7 separate regions of the Homo sapiens genome follow, and all the other regions are linked to region 1. The links are contacts of gene promoters, found by promoter capture Hi-C in blood cells and fetal thymus (Javierre and others, 2016). All regions are on one chromosome and are shown on one strand. The core of a region is centred on a gene start or on the middle of the fragment in contact, and the rest is flanking DNA. Distances in the headings are between cores, read along the strand shown.

The links. The method cuts DNA at HindIII sites, captures the fragments that hold promoters and counts their contacts. A CHiCAGO score of 5 or more calls a contact.
Region 2: a fragment that was not itself captured here is called in contact with the fragment with the promoter of BICD1 in region 1 in 4 of 17 cell types (activated CD4 T cells, neutrophils, fetal thymus and 1 more); the score reaches 8.2 in activated CD4 T cells.
Region 3: a contact is called between a fragment that was not itself captured here and the fragment with the promoter of BICD1 in region 1, in 6 of 17 cell types (activated CD4 T cells, non-activated CD4 T cells, total B cells and 3 more). The highest score is 7.9, in activated CD4 T cells.
Region 4: a contact is called between a fragment that was not itself captured here and the fragment with the promoter of BICD1 in region 1, in 10 of 17 cell types (non-activated CD4 T cells, total CD4 T cells, naive CD8 T cells and 7 more). The highest score is 8.8, in non-activated CD4 T cells.
Region 5: a fragment that was not itself captured here is called in contact with the fragment with the promoter of BICD1 in region 1 in 10 of 17 cell types (non-activated CD4 T cells, total CD4 T cells, naive CD4 T cells and 7 more); the score reaches 10.0 in non-activated CD4 T cells.
Region 6: a contact is called between a fragment that was not itself captured here and the fragment with the promoter of BICD1 in region 1, in 1 of 17 cell types (total CD4 T cells). The highest score is 5.3, in total CD4 T cells.
Region 7: a contact is called between the fragment with the promoter of H3-5 here and the fragment with the promoter of BICD1 in region 1, in 5 of 17 cell types (total B cells, activated CD4 T cells, naive CD8 T cells and 2 more). The highest score is 7.1, in total B cells.

Annotation. Positions count from the first base shown.
Region 1 is chr12:32,105,281-32,108,890 of GRCh38, reverse strand. BICD1 (BICD cargo adaptor 1) reads right to left here and starts at 2,044. Exons shown (of 10, transcript NM_001714.4): 1 at 1,347-2,044. The coding sequence starts at 1,559. BICD1-AS1 (BICD1 antisense RNA 1) reads left to right here and starts at 1,429. Exons shown (of 3, transcript NR_185992.1): 1 at 1,429-1,497. RefSeq lists enhancers at 437-1,074, 1,602-1,681 and a silencer at 2,042-2,521. The HindIII fragment of the contact is 11,162 bases long and covers 1-2,541 here.
Region 2 is chr12:31,641,145-31,644,754 of GRCh38, reverse strand. The region is part of intron 1 of LOC124902913 (a long non-coding RNA gene); the gene reads left to right. Among named protein-coding and RNA genes, the nearest start is that of ETFBKMT, 17 kb to the left of the region's middle. The HindIII fragment of the contact is 8,322 bases long and covers 1-3,610 here.
Region 3 is chr12:31,660,714-31,664,323 of GRCh38, reverse strand. It overlaps ETFBKMT (electron transfer flavoprotein subunit beta lysine methyltransferase), which reads right to left. Exons shown (of 4, transcript NM_001135863.2): 2 at 2,057-2,483. The coding sequence starts at 2,370. Among named protein-coding and RNA genes, the nearest start is that of ETFBKMT, 2.8 kb to the right of the region's middle. RefSeq lists an enhancer at 2,122-2,241. The HindIII fragment of the contact is 609 bases long and covers 1,642-2,250 here.
Region 4 is chr12:31,683,167-31,686,776 of GRCh38, reverse strand. All of the region lies in intron 6 of AMN1 (antagonist of mitotic exit network 1 homolog), which reads left to right. Among named protein-coding and RNA genes, the nearest start is that of ETFBKMT, 25 kb to the right of the region's middle. The HindIII fragment of the contact is 2,062 bases long and covers 793-2,854 here.
Region 5 is chr12:31,708,232-31,711,841 of GRCh38, reverse strand. It overlaps AMN1 (antagonist of mitotic exit network 1 homolog), which reads left to right. Exons shown (of 7, transcript NM_001113402.2): 2 at 2,417-2,549. Among named protein-coding and RNA genes, the nearest start is that of AMN1, 19 kb to the left of the region's middle. The HindIII fragment of the contact is 155 bases long and covers 1,804-1,958 here.
Region 6 is chr12:31,738,535-31,742,144 of GRCh38, reverse strand. No RefSeq gene overlaps it. Among named protein-coding and RNA genes, the nearest start is that of AMN1-AS1, 11 kb to the right of the region's middle. The HindIII fragment of the contact is 3,903 bases long and covers 1-3,610 here.
Region 7 is chr12:31,790,240-31,793,849 of GRCh38, reverse strand. It overlaps H3-5 (H3.5 histone), which reads left to right and starts at 1,552. Exons shown (of 1, transcript NM_001013699.3): 1 at 1,552-2,665. The coding sequence starts at 1,684. The coding sequence ends at 2,091. The HindIII fragment of the contact is 13,966 bases long and covers 1-3,610 here.

The DNA of each region.
Region 1 (3,610 bases), core at 795-3,294:
ACAAGTCCAGCTGTTGTTAAGACCAGACAGGTACATGGTAAGTAAAATAGGAACCAGAAATTTACAGCCTGACACACAAAAATTAGATTCCTAGTTGGGATTTTTAATCATAGGTAGTACATTTATTTTTTGGTAGACAGGCATCCAAATAAAAATAAGACATATCTAAAAGTATAAATGCTTACCATATTACACACTAAATTGGAAGGCAAGTTGATTCAGTATGTCATAAATCACATCTTTTAACTGTAACAGCATAAAATAAATAATAGATTTTTGATATTATATGCCAAACAATAATTAACATTTAAATGTCAATATGCACCTAAAAATAAGGACTTGACACACAGAAAAGGAGTGTATATTACATTTAAATTTGTAAGTGGTTATTTGCTACCCATAGTGCCTCAAGAATCAGATAAAAAAGACCGAGTTACTTAAACAATATGTATGTTCTTAAGAGTGACTGATAGGAAATCAAAGCACGTTCATTGTTTTCTCCCATACATCCGACAGGCTTTAAAAGAGGCCAAATACCAAAAAACTAAAGAGACATTATACATCACCCATTTTTGATATTCTGGTTTTATAAATATATCATTTCAACCAGAAGAGCCTCATTTGAAATGCAACACTACCCACGTATTTGATATACACCACTCTTTCAGACTATTTGTAGGTGAGTTCAATTTTTTCTAGTCAGGGTGACCTCATAAGACTTGGACATGGCCCAGCCTCGCTCCGAGGTGAAATCAAGGCAGTGGGATCACCCAGCAAAGTTGTTTTTCTTCTGCAGCCCAATGACAAGAATGACTAAAGCCAAGCAGAATGAAGATTGCCTAGCCTTTGTCAAATGGGATTGGTGAGGAGTTCCCTCTCTCACCAAGGAGTGGTTACATCCAGAGGAAAGCTGAGGTGCCACACAGTCTAAATCCTGAAATTGTGGGTCCTCAGGCACAAACCTCATCACTTTTGTGGACTACGAAATTGTCGCTGAAACCTGGGTTTGAGATAACAGCGGTTTTGAGAAGTTTGATTTATACATTCCAACCCACTTGAATGTCGTCTTAGAGTGCTGAGACTTGATGACTCTTACTAATCTCCCTCCCCCGCAGGCCAAACAGCCATTGCCTCCCAAATTCCAGCTTATATATTCATTTCTTAGGCAATTTTTCTCTTGGGGGAGGAAACAATGGACTCTTTCAATCTTCTCTTACCAACAAAGGGCCCTAGAAGAAAAAACAGTCCTTTCAATCACCTCCTTTATGACTTCTTGATCATGATGAGTGGGCCTTGCGGGTGGGGGGAGTGAGGGCCAGGAAAGGGAGAGGTGACAGGCAACTCACCTCTTTGAGCTGCTCCAGCTCCTGTTTGAGGCTGTCGTACTCAGCCTCCAGTTCATCATACTGCTGTTTGAGGGTCAGCTTCTCCTCCAGCACCACCAGCCCGTACTCGGCAGCCTGGATCTTCTCGTGGGTGGTCTCCGTGAGCTCCTTGGTTAGCCTCTCTATCTCAGTCTTATAATGGTCCACCGTCTGCAATACCTCTTCTGCGGCCATAGCCCCGGTGGATGGAGGCAGGAGGGGGTTACGGGGTGGGGGAGATGGATGCGAAGCTGGCGGGGAAAGGGAGAAGGAAATGGGAAGGGATGGGTGGAAACGGAAAAGAAAGTGCGGCCGGATGAATGAGCAGCGCGATGCCCCGCCGGCTCTGGTGGCAGCGGCAGCTACACCGCCCGAGAAACTGACGAGAAATGCAACATGGAGAACAGGGCAGAGGGTCAGGGGCGAGGCGGCAAAGGCCGCCGCATGTGTCCTCGGGGCCGGCCCCTGCGTGCGGTCAGCAGCCGTGCGGCATGGCCCGGGCTGCGGCGGCCGCGGGTAGCGAGGGGCTCCGGATTCTGCTTATTCAGAGACGCCCGTCCGCCATGTCTCCCGGGCCGCGTCACTGCAGTCTCGCCCTGGGTCTGGCGCGCTCCGGCTCGCGGCTCGCTCTCTCGCTCCACCTGCTCCCTCTGGCCCTGCAGCAGCCGGTGCGGAATGATGCAGTCTCGGGGCCGGCTCCCTCCCTTCCCGCGTGGCGGCGGCTCCGAGCAGGGGGCGGGGAGCGGATGGAGTCAGCGCGGGGGGCGGAGGGAAGGACCAGACGGAAACATCCCGAGGCGCCTCCCGCCGGGCGCGCGGGCCGCCGCCCGCTGCACCGTGAGGCGCGCCAGGAGGAGGCGCAGGCGACGGGTCTGGGACTGGGAAGCGGTGGGGCGCGCGCGGCGGGGGAGCCTCCGCCCTGTCCGGCTCGCGGGGGCGGGAGCTCCTCCCAGGGCTTTGTCCCGGTGGCAGTAGAAGACCCCGAGAGCGGCGTGGGCGCCCGGGCTCTTTTGCTACGTCGAGGGCCGAAGCTCAGGAAACTGCCTGGAACGCTTTCTCCCGAGAAAAGCAAACAAAACTATCGCGGTCGCGGTCCGCGCATCCTCCTCGTCCCCTGGGCGCGCAGAAGGCTTTTTGGGCCACCTGCCCCCAAAAGACCGCTGGGTTTCCCAAAGCTTTCAAGACGCACCCCAAGGCGCCCTCCTCCGTCGTCCCCCTCTCTCCCTGCCTCTCCCAAGTCTGGCCTGGGCCACCTAACACTCTCACCAGATAACCTTACTATCCTCACAGGACAGTCCGCTAAATATTGCTCGCCCTCACCCAGCGTATCACAAGAGCGCTATCCACTCAGAAAAAAAATATCTCCACAATACATGCACCCAGGAAACCTCTAGCTAGGTACTGTATATCTTGCCCCAATAGTTTCCATCAAAGCACCTTACTCTGTGTCTTCAATAAAGGAAAACTGCTTGAAATTCCCTATATAAGATACCAACGATGCCCTGTAATAAGCATTTTTTAAACAATAAGAGCTAAGAGTTCTTGAGACCCATACCAAGCATTCTTCTAAGTATGTAACATGCGTTCTCTCCAATCCTAACAATGCTTTGAGGTAAGAGCCATTATCCTCAGTTTACAGGGGGTGAAAGGCAAAGGGAGATGTGATTTGTCCAAAGTCAGGCAACTCTGGAATCTTAACTCGGGAGCACTAAACGGGATCATTATGTTGGCTTCAGGTTCACTCATTACTCATACAAACCCAGCAACTACATATTACATGCTTTTAAGATAATCACATTAATCCATATGAAGAGTGATGATGAACGGTTACAAAAGGAGGTGAAAGCAAAGTAAGAGTGGAGTAAATGAAAGAGTGGAGAAGGGTCGAGAATCAAGAGGAAGAACGCAACATGAGAGAAAAGAAGCAATTTCTGTGTAACGGGAGGCTGTGAGACCCACAGATCAGTGGGTCTTTCCAGTTCCCTCTCTTCTTCTGCATGGCACCTATTCCAGAGCTGTTTCTCAGTGACCAGGTGATGAACACACATGCGTTTTCTAAGTTAGAAAGCAGGACTCAACTCTCCCATCATTGTGTACCTGGTAAAAAAAAAAAAAAAAAAAAAAAAGATGATTGTTGACCGGGCACAGTGGCTCACGCCTATAATCCCAGCACTTTGGGAGGCAGAAGTGGATGGATCATTTGAGGTCCGGAGTTCAAGACTAGCCTGGCCCACATGGTGAAATCC
Region 2 (3,610 bases), core at 650-3,149, 460 kb after region 1:
GAAAGAGATGAACATTTGAGCCCGGGCGTGGTGTCTCACGCCTGTAATCCGAACACTTTGGGAGGCTGAAGGAGGTGGATCACCTGGGGTCAGGAGTTTGAGAACAGCCTGGCCAACATGATGAAACCCCATCTCTACTAAAAATACAAAAAATTAACCGGGCGTGGTCGACAGTGTCCCCTGGCACCGCTGTATGTGCAGCAACAGATAGGTAAAATCTAAGGTTTTAGGACAGATGTGTGAAGGCTGCTGGTGAATGGATGGGACCAGGACAAAGAGGGTACCTCAAGTACAAGGTGCTCTTTGATCAAGCCAAGGACCATTACGGGTTGCAGGGTTGTTTCCCTCCCGGTCAGCCCTGACAGCTAAAGGGACATCATTTATGCCAGTGCTCCAAGCCACCCTTCAGCTCTTTTGGTTAAACCAACATGTATGGCTCTGGGCTGGGCATGGTGGTGCACGCCTATAATCTCAGCAGTTTGGGAAGCCGAGGCGGGAGGATTGCTTGAGCCCAGGAGTTTGAGGCTAGCCTGGGCAACATAGCGAAACCCCAACTCTACAAAAAAATACAAAAATTAGCCGGGTGTGGTGGAGTGCACCTGTAATCCCACCTACTTGGGGGCTGAGGTGTGAGGCTCACTTGGGCTTGGGCAGATGAATGTGCAGTGAGCTGTGATCATGCCACTGCACTCCAGGCTGGGTGACAGAGGGAGACCCTGTCTCAAAAAAAAAAAAAAAAAAATGTATGGCTCTGGCATTTTTCACGTTTGCTGAAGCATGTTCCTTGGGGGCATAATGAGAACACAGGAACCTTGTCTATAATGCATAATGACCATCGGAGGAAAGAATCCCCAGCTAGCTCCATTGTCAGCAACTATCAAGAACCTGCTAGGGGGCCAGGTGCGGTGTCTCATGCCTGTAATCTCAGCACTTTGGGAGGCCGACGCAGGCGGATCACTTGAGGTCAGGAGTTCGAAACCAGCCTGGCCAACATGATGAAACTCCGTCTCTACTAGAAAAAATATAAAAATTGTCCAGGTGCGGTGGCTCACGCTTATAATCCCAGCACTTTGGGAGGCCGAGGTGGATGGATCACTTGAGGTCAGCAGTTCAAGACCAGGCTGGCCAAAATGGTGAAACCCTGTCTCTACTAAAAATACAAAAATTAGCTGGGCGTGGTGGCATGCCCCTGTAATCCCAGCTACATGGGAGGCTGAGGCAGGAGAATCGCTTGAACCCAGGAGGCAGAGTTTACAGTGAGCTGAGATCGCACCACTGCACTCCAGCCTGGGTGACAGAACAAGAGTCCGTCTCAAACAAACAAAAACGAAAAACAAAAATTAGCCCTGTGTGGTGGTGTGTGCCTGTAGTCCCAGCTACTCAGGAGGCTGAGGCAGGAGAATTGCTTGAACCCGGGAGGCAGAGGTTGCAGTGAGCTGAGATCACGCCACTGCACTCCAGCCTGGGCAACAGAGTGAGACTCCATCTCAGAAAAAAAAAAAAAAATTTGTGGGAGAAACAAAAATGAATAAGACTTCGGTCCTACCTTCATGGAGTTTTAATATGAATCTGAGTAGTTTCAAAATATGCCTAATGAGACTCAAAATAATCCATATGTCACAGAATGAATTCTGTTAAAGGGCAGAACAGAGTGGCTCTAAAGTCAATCTGTTCCACCACTTACTAGCTCTGTGAGCTTGATTAAGTGCCGTAACCTCTCTGTGCTTCGGTGAATTTGTCTATAAGATGAGAGAACAAGGCCGGGCACGGTGGCTCACACCTGTAATCCCAGCACTTTGGGAGGCCGAGGTGGGTGTATTGCTTGAGCTCAAGAGTTTGAGACCAGCCTGGGCAACATGGCGACACCCCATCTCTACTAAAAGTACAAAACAAAATAAAATTGAAAAATGAGAGAACAAGAAGTACCTACTTCATAGGTTGTGGTGAGGATTAAATGAGTCAATGCCTATAAACTTCTTAAAGCAAGGCCTGGAACATAGAAAATGTTCTATTAATATTAATAATAATTATTATTTAAACTATCAACAAATATTGTGTCTCTGCATGAGACGTAACAACCAAGAGTTTTATAAAGGTGGCACAAGGATACCTCATCTCTTGGTTATTTTGGGAGTCGGAAACATTGTAATGGAGACACTTAGTTTCCAGGCTCTCAAACAAAAGGTTCTCTAAGCCGTGTTATCACTTGAGAGTTGCATGTTTTCAGTTTAAAGACAAATTTAAGACCATTCTATTGTAATAACCGAAAATTAAATGGCACACTGATAAAAAGAGAACCAGCAGCGTTTTATTTACCTTGAAAGGTGGTAATTTAAGAAAAACAGGGGAGATTTTAACAGGATGAAGAGGAATATAAAAATTTGTGACAAGATGAAAAGAAATATCGGGGTACTTGAAAGGTTTTAGAGGTTGAGACTCAAGTATTTTTTTTAGAAAGTCTTATTTCACCCTGGGACTTACATGACTTTTTTTCCCCAGCCATTACTAGAAGGGGTTTTGCACCTCCACACGGTATTAAAAGCGACAGAAGAGGACAAAAGGAAGATATGTATACAGGAGGGAGAAATAAATTATGTGCAATGGAATTAACTCAGCTTTAAGAAATAAGGGCAGGATGGAGAGTCTTCAAAAGGAAATATAAAATATTCCCAGCAGTCCGGGACCTCTATACCTTCAATGATCGTGTTACCGGAAAAGGGATCTCTATCCAGACCCCAAGAGAACGTTCTTGGATCTCGAGCAGGAGGGACTTCAAAACGAGTCACAGAGTGCAGTGAAAGAAGCAACGTTATTAGAAACTACACTGTTAGAGTAGGGCATCCTCAGAAAGCAAGAGGAGGAACGCCTCGACTTTGTTTTTTGTTTTTCTTCTCTAGAGATCTTGTCTATATAAAGGCTAAGCTAAGCTGTGTCCACGTGTGGGTGAGCAGACAGCATGACAGAATGTATGACTACTGATTTAAAGAAAACTGGCCTTGACATTCTAGTGTGTGGATACATCAAAGCAAAACTATTATTATCTTGAAAACAGAGATTGTTATGGGTATTGGACATCTGGACTCTTGGCTGTAGTAGGAGTGTGTCCTTGTAGGTATCTTTAGGCTGTTTCTTCCACTGTAAACAGCCCATGAATGTGGGTCGTGACCAGCAGAGAATGGGCTTTACTATTTCTCAAGATGGAGCTGAACTTAAAATGGTGCTACTCTGGCCCTCCTAGGCTCCTGGTTCCCTAACATTACCCCCACTAATTTTGAGGGAACCCTTAATCTTTTTGTTTTGTTTTGTTTTTTTGAGACAGGGTCTCGCTCTGCCACCCAGGCTAGAGTGTGGTGGTGCGATCTTGGCTCACTGCAGCCTCTGCTTCCCGGGCTCAAGTGATTCTCGTGCCTCATCCTCCCAAGTATCTGGGATTACAAGCATGCGCCACTATGCCCAGCTAAGAGAGCCCTTAATTTTAAGAGGAGAGGAGGGTGAAGGTCATTCTTCTGTAACTTCTTCCTGCTGATAGTGGACATCGATTGCTGGGACAGGGTCCTTTCACGAAAGCATGCAGTGAGCCTCCTCAGGGAGCCAGGTGGTTCCTTGCTTG
Region 3 (3,610 bases), core at 697-3,196, 440 kb after region 1:
CCTGCTGCTTGAAATGTAGTATAATGACCTCTCTGGTAAAACTCAAAGTCCAATTCAACCAAGGAATTTGGACTGGAGCTAAATAGTTACCAAACAAGCGAAGAGGGATGGAGAAACGCTGAAATAACAAATTTCAGCTGACTCTTGATCTTCGGATTGGAGTAATAAGGAACAGTGGGTACTACTGAGGCAGGAGAATGGCAGAGGAAGTCAGGGGTGAAGGGGACCCGTTGGACATAGGCTAGCTGAAGCAATACCAAAAGCAAAGCATACAAGATAGCAGAAACAGGACATATGAAATAAGACAGTAAGCAGTAAGAGATACGGGAGTAAGCAATGAGTTAGAACATGCAAGATAAGGAAAATAAGTGGAAAGGGGTTGCAGTAGCAATTTGGTTACAAGAACTAAAAGTAAAGATGAGCAATTTTGTCAGAAAAGATAAAATAAGGTTAAGCAAGGATGCACAATTAGCTTATGAGAAATAAAGTGCGGTTTAGGCACAATGAGGGAAAGGCCAGGATGAGCAATTCACTTACGAAAAACAAAGTAAGGTTAAGCAAGTGAGGAAAAAACATATAAAAGGCCATGAACTATAACAAACTGGGGCTGATACCACTCGCAGGTCAGCCTGATCCGTTGCTGATTGCATTCTGCTTAACAAACTGTTTGCTGCCTTGCTACTTGTATGTGTCATGTCCAATTCTTTGTTGATGGCACTAAGAACCTGGGACTTGACATCAACCAGTTAACACTATGGCAAAGTAGAGGCATACATGCCCTGTCTAAATAGCTGCTACTGCCAGGCACGATGGCTCATGCCTGTAATCCCAGCACTTTGGGAGGCCGAGGCTGGCGGATCACTTGAGGTCAGGGGTTCGAGACCAGCCTGGTCAACATGGTGAAACCCTGTCTCTACTAAAAATACAAAATTAAGCCAGGCGCGGTGGCTCACGCCTGTAATCCCAGCACTTTGGGAGGCCGAGGAGGGCGGATCACGAGGTCAGAAGTTCGAGACCAGCCTGATCAACATGGTGAAACCCCATCTCTACTAAAAATACAAAAATTAGCCGGGCATGGTGGCATGAGCCTGTAGTCCCAGCTACTCAGGAGGGTGAGGCAGGAGAATGGCGTGAACCCGGGAGGCGGGGCTTGCAGTGAGCCGAGATCACACCACTGCACTCCAGCCTGGGTGACAGAGTGAGACTCTGTCTCAAAAAAAAAAAAAATTTTTTTTTGTAGAGATAGGGGTATCACTATGTTGCCTACGCTGGTCTCAAACTCTTGACTTCAAGCTGTCCTCCTGCACTGGCTTCCTAAAGCACTGGGATTACAGGCACTGCACCCAACAGAAGAGGGAAACTTTGAACAGCCCACTCACTCACAGCTCCTGTTTTATGGGAAAATAAGCAACTCTGGAAGGAATGTGAGGTTTATGGAGCGACATTCACTGAATTAAAGGAGAGCGAAAGGACTGGGTGTTTAGCTTCCATCTAGGAACTCTGCAATGGTCATGCGCTATGAACTATGAACCTCCTAACAGGTGAGATTTCTGGATCACTTATAGCTATCCAGGGTCTTGACAGCTGACTCTAGGATTTCTCTTGGGGAGACAGTTACTTGGGAAAATAGCTTGATAAGCTTGGGTTAGAATGGGAAATTACGCAACAAGGCAACAAAAAATATGGCTAACCTGAGGCTAGGCTCAGAGGCTCATGTCTGTAATACCAGCACTTGGGGAGGTTGAGGAGGCCAGATGTTTAAGACCAGCCTGGACAACATAGCAAGATCCTGTCTCTACCAAAAAAAAAAAAAAAAAAGAAAGAAAGAAAAAAGAAAACAACAAGACTGAGTTTTGCCGGTTTCTGTTTTGTTTTTGAGACAGGCCAGGCGAGAGTGCAGTGGCAGGATCACAGCTTACAGCCTCAGCCTCCCAAAGTACTGAGACTACAGGCATGAGCCACCACGCCTAGCATTGCTCTGGTTTTTTGTAGAGGTTGGAGGGAACTGAAAACAGCAAAGATCTGTAGCGCCTTAAAGGTTTCATTAGGGTAGTACCTAGACAGGGCTTGGCCTCCTGGCCAGTAGATTGCCCAGTAAGGATCACTGTGGGGCCACAGGTCAGCTCTCTCCCACCAGAATTTGCATCTGGGGGTCAAAAGCCGCAACTGGATTTCAGGGGTGAGGCTACCACTGCTGGTGACTTCAGTGTTCTCCTCCAGGAAAGCCTTTATCTCAGGGTCCAAAAAGCTTCCAGCTCCTCTCCAGGGACACTGGCCACAGGGAAACAAGAGAAGACCACTGCTTCGCAGAGCCTGCAAGAGGAGACCACAGTGGTTCCTGTGTGCTTTCCAACCTAGACTCAAAGCCATCAGTCCTTTCCCCAAACACAGGTTCTGTCAATGTTCTGTTGATAATAGCTGCTTCTCAAGGAGAATGAACAAGGGTGTGTCTCCCAACTTGATCTCAACCGGAACCTCTGACTCTGAAAAAAAAAAGAAAAGTAATACTGAGAATTCTGAGGAAGAGCAACATTTCTAGATCCTATTACATAATAAGAAAATATTGGCCGGGCGCGGTGGCTCACGCCTGTAATCCCTGCACTTTGGGAGGCCAAGGCGGGTGGATCACGAGGTCAGGTGTTCAAGACCAGTGTGGCCATCATGGTGAAACCCTGTCTCTACTAAAAATACAAAAAATTAGCCAGGCGTGGTGGCGGGTACCTGTAATCTCACTACTTGAGAATTGCTTGAACCCGGGAGGCGGAGGTTGCAGTGTGCCGAGATCGCACCATTGCATTCCAGCCTGGGCAACAAGAGCAAAACTCCGTCTCATAAAAAAAAAAAAGAAATAAAATATTACAGTGTATATTACTGTATCTGATGATTCACATGTGCAAGTTCATTTCAGATGAAAGCTTTGGTGCATCAATTGGGAAAATCCAATCTTTTTAAATGATACTTTTCACAAGAGAATCCTTTTAGTAATTTAACACAACAAATATACAAGCATTTGATTTTGAAAGAATCCTCAAGAAAATGCCTCTTACAGGAAATCAGCCATACAGTCATCCTTCAGTATCCTCAAGTGATTGGTTCCGGTATCCCCTGCTTCCAGGATACCACAATCAGAGGATACTCAAGTCCCTTATATAAAATGGCATCATATTTGTATATAAACTAGGCATATGCTGTGGTATACTTTACTTTAAATCATCTCTGGATGACTCATAATACTTAATACAACGTAAATGCTATATAAGTAGTTGTTACACTATTTTTGTGTTATTTTTATTGTTGTAATTTTATATTGCTATATTGTTATATTGTGGGCCAACTGTACCTTTAAAGTTCTTTCATAAATTTAACAAAGTAGGCATGCTTGGTAACTGTGAACAAAATAACAGAAGTCTTCTGTCTTCAGGAAGCTTATATTCTAGTGGTGGGATAAAGCAGTTAACAGGGCAAACACAGTTTTTGCCTTTATGAAGTCTAGCCAAGAGTTCTGGGGGTTAATGAATTTATAATTGTCTGTGGGCAGAGATATATTAATACAAATTATATTGACTACTCTATTTCATTAAAGATTGTTGTATCATAAAACAATGCAATC
Region 4 (3,610 bases), core at 574-3,073, 420 kb after region 1:
CCATATGCATTCAGTAGAAGCCATACTTCAAGAACCTGTGCAAGCATTTTTTTCACTTTCAGTATAATATTCAATAGATTACATGAGACAGTCAACACTTTATTAAAAAATAGGCTTTGTGTCGGAAAATTTTGCCCATCTGTAGGCTAATTTAAGTGTTCTGAGCATGTAGGCTAGGCTAAGCTATGTTGTTCAGTAAGTTAGGTATATTGAACACATTTTCGACTTTGTGTATTTTCGACTTATGAGTTTGTCAGGGTGTAACCCCATCATAAATTGAGAAGCATCTGTAGAGAGAAGCAATAAATACCAATTTTCTTTTTTCTTTTTTTGAGGCAGAATCTCACTCTGTCACCCAGGCTGGAGTGCAGAGGCATGATCTTGGCTCACTGCAACCTCCACCTCCTGGGTTCAAGTGCTTCTCCTGCCTCAGCCTCCCAAGTAGCTGGGATTACAGGCTTGCACCACCCTACCCAGCTAATTTTTGTATTTTAGTAGAGACAGGGTTTCACCATGTTGGCCAGGCTGGTCTTGAACTCCTGACCTCAGGTGATCCACCTGGCTCAGTCTCCCAAAGTGCTGGGATTACAGGCATGAATCACCATGCCTGGCCTAAATACCAGTTTTCAAGTCTGGAAAATATACTGGAGTGGTTAATCAGATTTTCAAACCAAGGAGTCTTTTGAGATAAATTATGTCATTATGGAGATCACTAGTAACCAAAGATATGTTAACAGATCATGGATTTAAGATAAATGCCTAGTTGATGTGATTTCAGACACCAGGAAAGCTTAATGACACTAAATGATTAATGAGTGCAATGAGCTTAATCACACTAAATGATTGCAATGAGCTGAGATCACGTCATTGCACTCCAGCTTGGGCAACAAGAGTGAAACTCCGTTTCCAAAAAAAAAAAAATAATAACAAATGCGGTTGAGCATTCCTTTTTTCTTTCTTTCTTTCTTTTTTTTTTGATAATGAGTCTTGCTCTGTCGCCCAGGCTGGAGTGCAGTGGTGCAATCTTGACTCACTGCAACCTCCGCCTCCCAGGTTCAAGTGATTCTCCTGCCTCAGCCTCCCAAGTAGCTGGGATTACAGACGCCCGCCACCAGGTCTGGCTAATTTTTGTATTTTTAGTAGAAATGGTGTTTCACCATGTTGGCCAGGCTGTTGTCGAACTCCTGACCTCAGGTGATCTGCCCGCCTTGGCCTCCCAAAGTTCTGGGATTACAAGCGTGAGCTACCACGCCCAGCTGTTTGAGCGTTCTATAGTGGAAAAAATGTGAAAGTCATGGTATTAACTAAATTTTCATTTAAGAGTGTGGGAAGAATGATCCTTCAATGGACAGCTTTGGAGGGACCAAGGGAGACAAAAGTAGAATTGCTGTTAATGTTGAACCTTAAGAGCCATCTTTGTTCAACATACAAATTAAAATACCATTATAGGCCAGGCGAAGTGGCTCACGCCTGTAATCCCAACACTTTGGGAGGCTGAGGTGGGCAGACCACTTGAGGTCAGGAGTTCAAGACCAACCTGGCCAACATGGTGAAACCCTGTGTCTACTAAAAATACAAAAATTAGTTGAGTGTGGGGCTGGGTGCCTGTAATCCCAGCTACTTGGGAGGCTGAGGCAGGAGAATAGCTTGAACCTGGAAGGCAGAGGTTACAGTGAGCCAAGATCTCCGCACTGCACTCCAGCCTGGGCAAGAGTGGGCAGGACTCTATCTCAAAAAAAAAAAAATAATAATTATGGAAAACAAAATTTATAAAAATCTAAAAGATATGTGATATAAATGTAACTCACTTAAGAAGCATCTTAGATTTTGTATTCCCCGTATGTTTCAGAGCAATTCTATTGGTTTTACCTTCGTATTTTTATGTTGGTGATGAGAAAACACTTAACCATTTGTAGGTTTCAGTAATTGAAATAATACTTTCTGGTAGTATTTTTCAAATAGACCCCAGGACCCATTTACATTCTTAAAAATTATTGAGGATCCCAGGCCGGGCGCGGTGGCTCACGCCGGTAATCCCAGCACTTTGCGAGGCCAAGGCAGGTGGATCACAAGGTCAGGAGATCGAGATCATCCTGGCTAACACGGTGAAACCCTGTCCGTACTAAAAATACAAAAAAATTAGCCGGGCATGGTGGCGGGCGCCTGTAGTCCCAGCTATTCAGGAGGCTGAGGCAGGAGAATGGCATGAACTTGGGAGGCCGAGCTTGCAGTGAGCCAAGATCGCACAACGGCACTCCAGCCTGGGCAATAGAGTGAGACTCCATCTCAAAAAAAAAAAAAAAATCACTGAGGATCCCCAAAGAGTTTTTGTTTATGTATATTTGTTAAATTAAAATTTCTATTAAAACAGATAAATTTTAATAGACATTCATTTTTTAAAAATCGTAAATCTATTACCTAGAAAAGAGATATATTTTCATTCAGATCATCACTTTTCAGATCATTGTGGATACTCTTCTTTGATACCCCAAAACTCAGCAAGTGGTAATTTCTTATGGGTTGTTGCAATGTGGAACTTGAAAACATATCAATGAACTTTGCGTACATTTTGTTATGATGCACTTTTCATACATTTGTGTTATGATGCACTAGTCTGTCTTGAATTTTGAGTTGATCTTTACCAATGCATGATTTTGTAACATCATGCATTGGCAGTTCGGAAAATATTGGTTCTCTGAGTTATATAGATCTTTTAAATATTGACACATTTTATTATCCAAAACAAAAATCAGTTGTTAACATAATAACTGATGTCATTAGAAAGGTCCTGGATAGCTTTCAAGATCACAGTGGCAGCTACGAGGCTTCCAAAATTCACTTGAAAGCTAAAGCTTTATCACTGACAACAAATTCTGTCATTTGTTTTCTTTGAAATGACAGCCTCATTTCTTCTATTTTCATGAAATAGTCTGCCAAGTACTCAAATAAGAATAACCTTACACTGTAGTCATTGTATTAGTCCGTTTTCACACTGCTGATACAGACATACCCAAGACTGGGTAACTTATAAAGAAAAAGAGGTTTAATGGACTCACAGTTCCACGTGGCTGGGGAAGCCTCACAATCATGGCTGAAGGCGAAAGGCACGTCTTACAGGGTGGCAGGCAAGAGAGAATGAGAGCCAAGAGAAGGGGTTTCCCCTTTTAAAACCATCAGATCTCATGAGACTTATTTACTATCATAAGAACAGCACAGGAAAGACTTGCCCCCATGATTCAATTACCTCCCACCGGGTCCCTCTCACGACACATGGGAATTGTGGGAGCTACAATTCAAGATGAGATTTGGGTGGCGACACAGTCAAACCATATCAATCATTCTTTTAAAAAGTAAAAATGGTGTTCCATGAGAAAAGTAACTAGTTCAGTTCACAACCCTGAAAGGGTCTCAGACTACAGAATATGCAGACTACACTTTGGGAACCACTGCTTTATGGTAAAGAAAAATTATCAGTCAACTTCAACATTTGCAGCAAGAATAGCATATCATTTTCTGGCCAGGTGTGGTAGCTCACGCCTGTAGTCCTGCACTTTGGGAGGCCAAGGCAGGCAGATCACTTGAGATTAGGAGTTTGAGACCAGCCTGGCCA
Region 5 (3,610 bases), core at 632-3,131, 400 kb after region 1:
GTTGATTAATGGGTATAAATACACAAATAAAAAATAGTGTTCAATAGATGGGTAGGGTGACTATAGTTAATAATAATCTATTATACACTTCAAAATGGTTAGAAGAGAATAATTTGAATGTTCCTAGCATAAACAAAAGATAAATATTTAAGGTGATGGATAACCCAGTTACCCTGATTTGATCTTTACACATTATATGAATGTATCAAATTATCACATGTACCCTGAAAATATGTACATCTATTATGTATCAGTTTTTAAAAATAACAAAACAGGCAAAGGATATGTATAGATTGTTTATGGAAAAGCATATCCAGATAGCCAGCAAGCTCATGCAAGGATGTTGTTTATTGGTAATTAGAGAAATACAAGTTAAAGTAATAGTGAGACATCATTTTCACCTGTTAGGCCTTCCAACATTTAAGAGTAGGTGATCTTGAAAACAGTGCTGAGTGAAAAACTAAACAAATCTATGACAAGTCCCATGTTTATAAATTAGAAATGCATGCATACAATAAACATGTTAAAAGGAAATATACAATGAAAGGATACACATTAAACATGAGAATGGTTTCCTAGAGGGGTGGGGAATGGGAGTGGGAAATGGAGATAACAAAGAAATGGAAAGAATAAATAAAATTAAAATTAAATATAAAATAAATAAATAGGGCTGGGTGCGGTGGCTCATGCCTGTAATCCCAAGTGAGGAGTTTGGACCATCCTGGCCAATATGGTGAAACCCCATCTCTATTAAAAATACAAAAATTAGCCAGGCATGGTGGCACACGCCTATAGTCTCAGCTACTTGGGAGGCTGAGGCAGAAGAATTGCTTGAACCTGGGAGGCAGAGGTTGCAGTGAGCTGAGATCATGCCACTGCACTCCAGCCTGGGTGACAGAGTGAGACTCTGTCTCAAAAAATAAATAAACTAGCCATGATATCTATTGCTGGAAGGATGTAGAGGGAAAGGAGCTTTCTGACACTACTAATAGAAATATGAAGTGTTTTCCAGACTTTCTGAAAAATAATCTGACAACATATCCTAGAAATAGTGGTAATGCTTGTCAGCATACAAGTCACTAAATAGATCATCCGTACTGTGAAATATGATGTGACCATTAAGGGAGAATCAGTACTGTGTCGGATGCCTTGAAGGGATTTCATAAGATACTGAATGAAAGACAGTGTATAAAAGTAAGTGTACTGTGGTGCCGTTTTAGGAAACAATGACCCCTCCCCCACACAAGCCTTTAAATGTGTGTGTGTGTGTGTGTGTGTGTGTGTGTGTGTACAAGAACAGAGAAAAATAAGAAAGAATATATGCTACATTGGTGTAGAGAGCTAATGGAGGGGGAAGGACAAGAGAGGAAACTGTGTAGGAAACCAAAAGAGGAAAAAGAAAAAATTAACATTGCACTAAAAAATTAATCACAGGTATATGATCACATTCACTCATGAATGTAAAATTTTGTATATATGGGGATATTTGTAGACAGAAATTAATAAGATTTGTATTTGTTTCTTTAAAGTATGAGTTTTTCAGATGGTTGGAATTTCAGGACACAGATAAGATATGTTGGTCATAAGATTCTTGGTTGTTGCCTGATAACTCTACTTTCTGCCTATACAACCCTGGCACTGAGTTTGATATCTCTGTGATTTGTAATATTTGCTGAATCTTTGTGGTTATGGTTCTTTCTCTAGTGATTTCATTATCCACATAGTTTTCAAGAAAAATAGTAAAAACAAGTTTGCTGGATTAACAGATAAAACTTTTCAATTAGTGGGTCCCAATATAAAGCTTATTTAGGAGTATGTGTCTTAGAAATTAGACACTTAGGAAAAACATTCTTGTTGGTCATTTAAAATGCATTTTGATAAATGAGGTATGCATAGAAAAAAATTGTAGAGGAAGAGCATCTTGTCCGTAATTTAACACAGACTAGGTTTTTGAAGCTTACAGAGCTAAAGTTGTAAATATAGTATTAATATAAAATGTATATACTTTTTTTTGAGACAGGATCTTGCTCTGTTGCCCAGGCTGGAGCGTAGTGGCACAATCACAGCTCACTGCAGTCTCGACCTTCTGGGCCCAAGCGATCCTCCCACCTCAGCCTCCCAAGTAGCTGGGACTACAGGCTCACATCACCATGCTCAGCTAATTTTTGTATTTTTTTTCTTTTTTTGTAGAGACAGGGTTTCACTATGTTGTTCAGGCTGGTCTCAAACTCCTGAGCTCAAGCCATCCTCCTGCCTGGGCTTCCCAAAGTGTTGGGATTACAGGCGTGAGCCACCACACCCAGCCAAAATGTACACACTTTTATGAAAGGGCTAAGTGCTAACAAATAGCATTAAGACAAGTGTTAGGAATCAGTACAGGCCCAGTGTGATTTACTATATTGTATTTGTATTTCAGATGCCTTTGGTGCTTCATGAAGAATATTTCCAGATATCTCACAGACATTAAGCCTTTGCCTCCCAACATAAAAGACAGACTGATTAAAATAATGAGTATGCAGGGACAGATAACAGATTCAAATATAAGTGAGGTAAGAGTATGAATAACTGTAAAGCAAGCATATTATATTTTCTGTTTAGATATGGTTTTAGATTTTTGGAACAATGGTATATGGTAAGACTGGTAATCATTTTTAATTTTTTTTTTTTTATACAGGGTCATGCTCCGTTGCCCAGGCTGGAGTACAGTGGTGCAATCTCAGCTCACTGCAACCTCCGCTGCCTGGACTTAGGTGATCCCTCTTCAGCCTCCTGAGTAGTTGGGACTATAGGTGTACACCACCATGCCTGGCTAATTTTTGCATTTTTTGTAGAGACAGGGTTTCACCATGTTGCCCAGGCTGGTCTCGAACTCCGGAGCTCAAGTGATCCATCCGCCTCAGCCTCTCAAAATGCTGGGATTACAGGTGTGAGCCACCATGCCTGGCCCACATTTTAGAATATTATAAAGTATAAGGGTTTGTTTTTTTCCCTCCAGATAACCAAAATGTCCATATGTAATTATCAGAGGAACCTGCCCCCAATATTTCAATGTAGGTTCTTTCTATTTTTCCTAAGTGTCGGCTGGTCTGAGAAATAAAGAGAAAGAGTACAAAGAGAGGAATTTTACAGCTGGGCCGCCGGGGGTGACATCACATATCGGTAGGACTGTGATGCCCACCTGAGCCACAAAACCAGCAAGTTTTTATTAAGGATTTCAAAAGGGGAGGAATGTACGAACAGGGAGTAGGTCACATGCTTTAAAGGGCAAAAAGCAGAGCAAAGATCACATGCTTCTGAGGAAACAGGGCAAGGACAAAATCAGAACTCCTGATAAGGGTCTATGTTCAGCAGTGCACGTATTGTCTTGATAAACATCTTAACAGAAAACGGTTCGAGAGCAGAGAACCAGTCTGACCTCAAATTTACCAGGGCTGGGGTTTCCCAATCCTAGTAAGCCTGAGGGTACTGCAGGAGACCAGGGTGTATCTCAGTCCTTATCTCAACCGCATAGGACAGACACTCCCATAGGACAGACACTCCCAGAGTGGCCATTTATAGACCTCCCCCCAGGAATGCAATTCTTTCCCTAGGGTCTTAATATTCCTTGCTA
Region 6 (3,610 bases), core at 488-2,987, 370 kb after region 1:
ACCCCACGGATTGCTAGTCCGCAGATTTCACAAGTCTGACAATTTCTTGGCAAATCTCAAGTAAAACATTGCCTCTCTAGAGAGACCACCTTACTACCCCTTTTAATTCTTCCTTGAATCTGTGGAGGATGGTGCTTGTTGTTTATAGTCATTCCTTCTCCCTTCCTCTTCTTTTTTAACAGAATCCTGATTTTGTTCAGGTATCAGATGGCCATGTGCTATAGGGGTATTCAGACTCATGCCCATCCTGAGGGATGAATTATGATTGATCTAAGTCATATCTCATTTCCCTTGGTAATGATTGGTTTAATCATAGCAAGTGCCATAGTACTGAGGATGCTGCTGTGAGTTCTTCTAGGCAAAGATTTTGTGTTCTTAACAAGAGAGATGTGAGAAAAATACAAGTACATGTTACCTGCCTCCAGGAACTTTAGTGTTCTCCTACCCTACCCTACAGTGTTATATTTCATTCAACAAACAACTGAGTGCTTAGTATGTGACAATGCATTGCTTATTTCTTAAACAGTGGCAAAAACAAATGCTTGAGAATCAGAAATATACTCAATTTTACTTTCTGTCTAACATGTCTAATGCCAATTCCAGCTGTCACATGCGTATTTCACAAGTAAAATGGAATAAGTCAAATAAGAGGCTCAAAGTAAAGCAATGAACTAGAATTTTCCTAACTTGCATCCTCAGTGCAAGGATGTATTGCTTGGACCTGCAGAGCCATCTTGAAAGCATGAGAGGAAAACTCAAGGGAATCACAGAGGTTCTGAGCAGGAATTATAATGTCATTAAGCCACTGAACAACCAACCCTGGAACTATCCTATTCTGACCTCCCTCCTCTTATTCTGACCTCCCTCCCTCCCCCGCTTCCTCTCTTCCTCTCTTCCTTCTCCTTCCTTCCTTTTCTCTCTCTTTTTTTTTTTTTTTTTTTTTTTGAGACAGTGTCTCACTCTGTTGTCCACTGGAGTGCAGTGGCACAGTCTTGGCTCATTGCAGCTTTGACCCCCCCCAGGCTCAAGCGATCCACTCACCTCAGCGTCCTAAGTAGCTGGGACTACAGGCATGTGCCACCACAGCTGGATATATATATATATATATTTGGAAGAGATGAGGTTTTCCCATATTGCCCAGTCTGGCATTCTGACTTTTCATGTGAGATTAAAACCTTATTTTTTTCTAGGACATAACCAAACACAATAATATTTGCAGTGGAAGGCTTTGTGGTTTGTGGTGGAAAGACTCTTAGTTGGCCCCACGATCCTTGCCTCCCCTTATGTGATCCTTTCCCCTTAGTGTGGGCAGGATCTGTGGCTCGCTTCTAACTGAAAGAAACAGTAAAGATGATGGGATGTATGTGATTGTGTGTACATGATTGGGGTCATGTTACATAAGATGGTAGCACCCATCTTTCTCCCCCTCCCCCAGTTTAGCTTTGAGGGCGCAGATGGCCATGTTAGAGGACTCTGCATGGCAAGAAATACAGGCAGCCTCTCAGAGCTGAGGGCAGCCTCCAGCCAACAGCCAACAAAAAACTTGAAGCTCTCAGTCCTACGACCTCAAGGAACTGAATTCTGCCATTAACATGAGTGAACTTGGAAGTGAGTCCTTCCCCATCTGAACCCAGGTGAGACTGCAGTCCCTGATGACAGCTCGATTGTAGCCTTTTGAGACCATAAGCAGAGGACCCAGTCAAGCCATGCTCAGACTCCTGCTACTTGGTAAATGTGTATTGTTACAAAACAATGAAACGCTAATAAGGGTATGGCTATTCACACCTTTTCCCCCTAATTTTTAAAATTTATCAATAAAAATTATTATTAAAAAATATAAATAGGCTGGGCGTGGTGGCTCACGCCTGTAATCCCAGCACTTTGGGAGGCCGGGGTGGGCGGATCACCTGAGATCAGGAATTCGAGACCAGCCTGGCCAACATGGTGAAACCCCGTCTCTACTAAAAATACAAAAATTAGCTGGGCATGATGGTGGGCGCCTATAATCCCAGCTACTCGGGAGGCTGAGGCAGGAGAATCACTTGAACCCGGGAGGCGAAGGTTGCAGTGAGCCGAGATCGTGCCACTGCACTCCAGCCTGGGTGACAGAGCAAGACTCCATCTCAACAAAGAAACAAACAATTAAACAAACAAACCAAAAAAATATATAATTTAAATAGCTTCACTCTCCTGTTCACCTGTTCAACTCCTCACTCCTCTTCCCATTCATTAATTGATTCCACATTTATCCACTCTTCACACAGAAGAGTCTGGGCAGCAAATACAGGAAAATCCTTTTGGCTTCAGAGTTTTTTGGGCTTCCAAATTGCAGATAAAGGACTGTGGGCTTTTAGTATATAGCCATAGAATCACTGGGGGATGGAACAAGACACTATTTGTAAAGGCTTGGAACAAGATTCAGCACACAGGAAGGGCTCAATAAATAATAGCTGTTATGGTGATTAGAATTAGAACTCCTGGGGCAGGTCTCTCTGACTGCTCTGTTACTCCTTGCAAGTCACTTCCTTTCTCCGGGCCTCAGTTTCCCCATTTTTAATAGGAGGGCCCCTCAGAGAAGCTCTCAAAAAGAGGGTTGAGCTCCTGTTCTGGAGGTGGCTCTGGACTGGGTGCTCATGAGCTGCAATACGAATTGCTCCTGAGCGAATGGTACACAGTCTGTTTGCGGCCTTAGTTTGTGGCAAGCCTGGGGAAATGGCTTCTCCTTGCCTAATCTCAGGTTCTCTACTGTCAAATGGGGCCAGAAGGTCACTCCCACCTAAACACATGAGAAAAGAGGCAGGACAAGGTGTACTCACTCTGGACTGGGCTTGTTTGTTTTTTAAAATATCATTTGAGGGGAAGAACAGATGCAAGGGTTTGCCTGGCTTCTCCTCATATACACAAAAGAACCCCCCACCACCCTAATCCCAACCCCCATCTCCACCCCAGCACAGAGCAGAGAGGAGTGACTCCTTGTCTCTGGCCTAGTCTTCTGTGCAATTGGAGTGAGGGCTGCAGGTCTTCACCTGCCCAGACCACCACACCCACCTCTGCATTCCCCATTTCTTTTTTTTCCTTATTTATTTATTTATTTTTGAGACAGAGTCTCGTTCTATCGTCCAGGCTAGAGTGCAATGGCACGATCTCGGCTCACTGCAACCTCCACCTCCAGGGTTCCAGCAATTCTCCTGCCTCAGCCTCCCAAGTAGCTGGGATTACAGGCGCATACCACCACACCCAGCTAATTTTTGTATTTTTAGTAGAGATGGGGTTTCTCCATGTTGGCCAGGCTGGTCTGGAACTTCTGAGCTCAAATGATTCACCCCCCTTGGTCTCCCAAAGTGCTGGGATTACAGGCGTGAGCCACTGCTTCCCCATTTCTTATGCAGTAATGATCTCTATCAGTGTTCCTCTCCTACCTCCCCCACCAGACTGTGAGTTCACGCCTAGCACCCTGCGTGTACCTCGATAAATGTGGAATCAATGAACAAATGGGAAGAGGAGTGAGGAGTTTACCAGGTGAACAGGAGAGTCAGACAACACTTTCAGCCTGGGCGTGCACTCAGTTGACAGCCCCACAGATGTTCAGCAGTGGTCAAATTTGAGTACA
Region 7 (3,610 bases), core at 303-2,802, 310 kb after region 1:
CTGGGGCGGGGAACCCTTCCTTTTTTTGCCCTTTTGAAAATAAGGTAGATTTCTTCAGATGTGGAAAGTATCAATGGTCAATCCAATAGCTTTTCGTTATTTTATTTTTTTATTTTTGGAGGCAAAGTCTCACTCTGTTACCCTGGCTGGAGTGCAGTAGTGCAATCTGGGCTCATTGCAACATTTGCCTCCTAGGTTCAAGCAAGTCTCCTGCCTCAGCCTCCCGAGTAGCTGGGACTACAGGCGTATGCCACCACGCTTGGCTAATTTTTGTATTTTTAGTAGAGACAGGTTTTGCCATGTTGGCCAGGCTCGTCTCAAACTCCTGACCTCGTGATCCACCTGCCTCGGCCTCCCAGTGCTACCATTACAGGCGGAGCCACCACACCTGGCTCACTTTGTGGCATATTTCTAGAAGTTAAAAAACTCACCTGACAAAAGAGATACTTTGTGGCCAGGCACGGTGGCTCACTCCTGTAATCCCAGCACTTTGGGAGGCTGAAGTGGGTGGATCACTTCACGTCAGGAGTTCGAGACCAGCCTGGCGAAAATGGTAAAACCCCCGTCTCTACTAAAAATACAAAAATTAGCCAGGTGTGGTGGCAGGCACCTGTAATCCCAGCTACTTGGGAGGCTGAGACAGGAGAATTGCTTGAACCTGGGAGGTGGAGGTTTCAGCGAGACGAGATCGTGCCATTGCACTCCAGCCTGGGTGAGGACAGTGAAACTCCATCTCCCAAAAAACAAAAAAAAAAAAAAAAAAGAGAGAGAGAGAGAGAAACTTTATGATTTACTCCATGGAACAAATATCATATAGAACTGTAACATTTAAAAGTCAGATTTCTGTTTCTAAACTTTAGGTTTATACCTCTTGGCAGATGACTAGATGATTCTTTCCCCATTCCAAGAGTAACAGATATTCAGCCAACTTGTGTGTGTGTTTATCACATGTGATTCCACATTTCAGTTTGTTTCTCTATATTTTTTGTATTTTAAATTGGACAAGTATTACTTTTATAATAAGAAAAAAGATAATTACTAAAAATAAATGAGAAATACATATACATGTAGAATTTGCATAGTGTCAAGTAAATGATAAGGGTAGAAAGAGTGCAGAGAAAAAAAGGATGAAAACGAAGGTGGCTGAAGAATGCTTTGTGACGGAGGTGGGATTGAAATGAGCTTTGAAAGGCCGGGTGCAGTGGCTCACACCTGTAATCCCAGTAATTTGGGAGGCTGCGGCGGGCGGATCACCTGAGGTCAGGAGTTTGAGACCAGCCTGGCCAACATGGTGAAACTCCGTCTCTACTAAAAATACAAAAATTAACCAGGTGTGGTGGCAGGCGCCTGTAATCCCAGCTACTCTGGAGGCTGAGGCAGGAGAATCGCTCGAACCTGGGAGGTGGAGGTTGTAGTGAACCGAAATCACGCCACTGCACTCCAGCCTGGGCAACAAAGCGAGACTCCGTCTCAAAAAACAAAACAACAACAAAAAACGAAACACCGAAATGGGCTTTGAAGAATGGAAGGGATGCAGATAAAAGAGAGGAGGGCGCAGAGCGGTTTGGTCGTTCGTTGGACCAGTGTCGGTTCTTCGCTCGCGACTGCGGCTCTTCCTCGGGCAGCGGAAGCAGCGCGGAGGTCGGAGAAGTGGCCTAAAACTTCGGCGTTGGGTGAAAGAAAATGGCCCGAACCAAGCAGACTGCTCGTAAATCCACCGGTGGGAAAGCCCCCCGCAAACAGCTGGCCACGAAAGCTGCCAGGAAAAGCACCCCCTCTACCTGCGGGGTGAAGCCTCATCGCTACAGGCCTGGGACCGTGGCGCTTCGAGAGATTCGTCGTTATCAGAAGTCGACCGAGCTGCTCATCCGGAAGCTGCCCTTCCAGAGGTTGGTGAGGGAGATCGCGCAGGATTTCAACACTGACCTGAGGTTTCAGAGCGCAGCCGTCGGTGCGCTGCAGGAGGCTAGCGAAGCGTACCTGGTGGGTCTGTTGGAAGATACTAACCTGTGTGCCATCCACGCTAAGAGAGTCACCATCATGCCCAAAGACATCCAGTTGGCTCGCCGGATACGGGGAGAGAGAGCTTAAGTGAAGGCAGTTTTTATGGCATTTTGTAGTAAATTCTGTAAAATACTTTGGTTTAATTGGTGACTTTTTTTGTAAGAAATTGTTTATATGTTGCATTTGTACTTAAGTCATTCCATCTTTCACTCAGGATGAATGCGAAAAGTGACTGTTTACAGACCTCAGTGATGTCAGCACTGTTGCTCAGGAGTGACAAGTTGTTAATATGCAAAACGGATGCGTGATATTTCTTGCTTCTCATGATGCATGTTTCTGTATGTTAATGACTTGTTGGGTAGCTATTAAGGTACTAGAATTGATAAATGTGTACAACAGGGTCCTTTTGCAATAAAACTGGTTATGACTTGATCCAAGTGTTTAACAATTGGGGCTGTTAAGTCTGACCATACATCACTGTGATAGAATGTAGGCTTTTTCAAGGGTGAAGATACAAACCTTAACCACAGTGTAACTTATAGTTTCCTTTAAAAAAAAAAAATTAAACCTGGCAGCTATAGAATACAATATGTGCATTTATAATAGCTATTTTATATATTGTAGTGTCAACATTTTCAAATTAAATGTTTTACATTCACAAGTGGTGGGGAGTCTTGTCATTAAGGTGTGTGTAATTTAGAGTCCAGTTGGTTTTCTTCTGACTGCACTTGTTCTCATAGTAGTAAAATGCTATGTGCATTTATACCTTGCATAAATCCTCATTCTACCACATGTTAACTAACCCTCTAGCTGATAATGGAAACACTAACTGGGGGATTTTATTTATAAGGGCTCTAGAAAAAAATATGAGTTATTCACACCAGCATCATCTGTTAACTAATATTCTGAACTAGTGCAGCTTTTCATTGTGTTGTGTGGTTGGTCTCATAACTAGGTTGAGTTTTCTCCTCTGCTAAGAGGAAACAGTACTGAAGTTCTTTTTCTTGTGGCATTTGTATTATAAAAACTTGGTGTAGGGGAGGAGCACAAAGCTCTAGCCCACTGAACCTCTGCCGGTTAAGATGGTGTTAGGTTAGGTTACATCTGGTTACTGTCCTGGGAAAATCATTTTTATAGAGATGGCCTTCCAAGTGGTTTTAAAATTTATCTTATTGAAGTTTTTAGGTCAATTATGTATGTTGACTAAATTTACAAATAAACTTGTTTATCCAAAAAAAAAAAAAGAGAGGAAAAGAATCAGAAATATTGGAGAGTAGAAATGCAACAGAAGAGAACTATAAAGTTTATGTTGGGGGAAAACAATTAGTTTGTCTCAAGTGTAGTATTTACGCAAAGGAGAAAACTTTAGGGATGTAGGGCCCACATTGTAAAGAGCTTGGAATTAGGATTTAAGGAATTTTATACTCTATCCTGCAAAATTCACAGACAAATTTGAGAACTGACTAGCATTTTAACTTGCAAAAAAAGACAAGTTAGTACAGAACTAGCACATCTAATTTTTAAAAAAGTATTTGAACTATAACATGGTGAAATCCCGTCTCTATTAAAAATACAAAAATTAGCTGGATGTGGTGGTGGGCGCCTG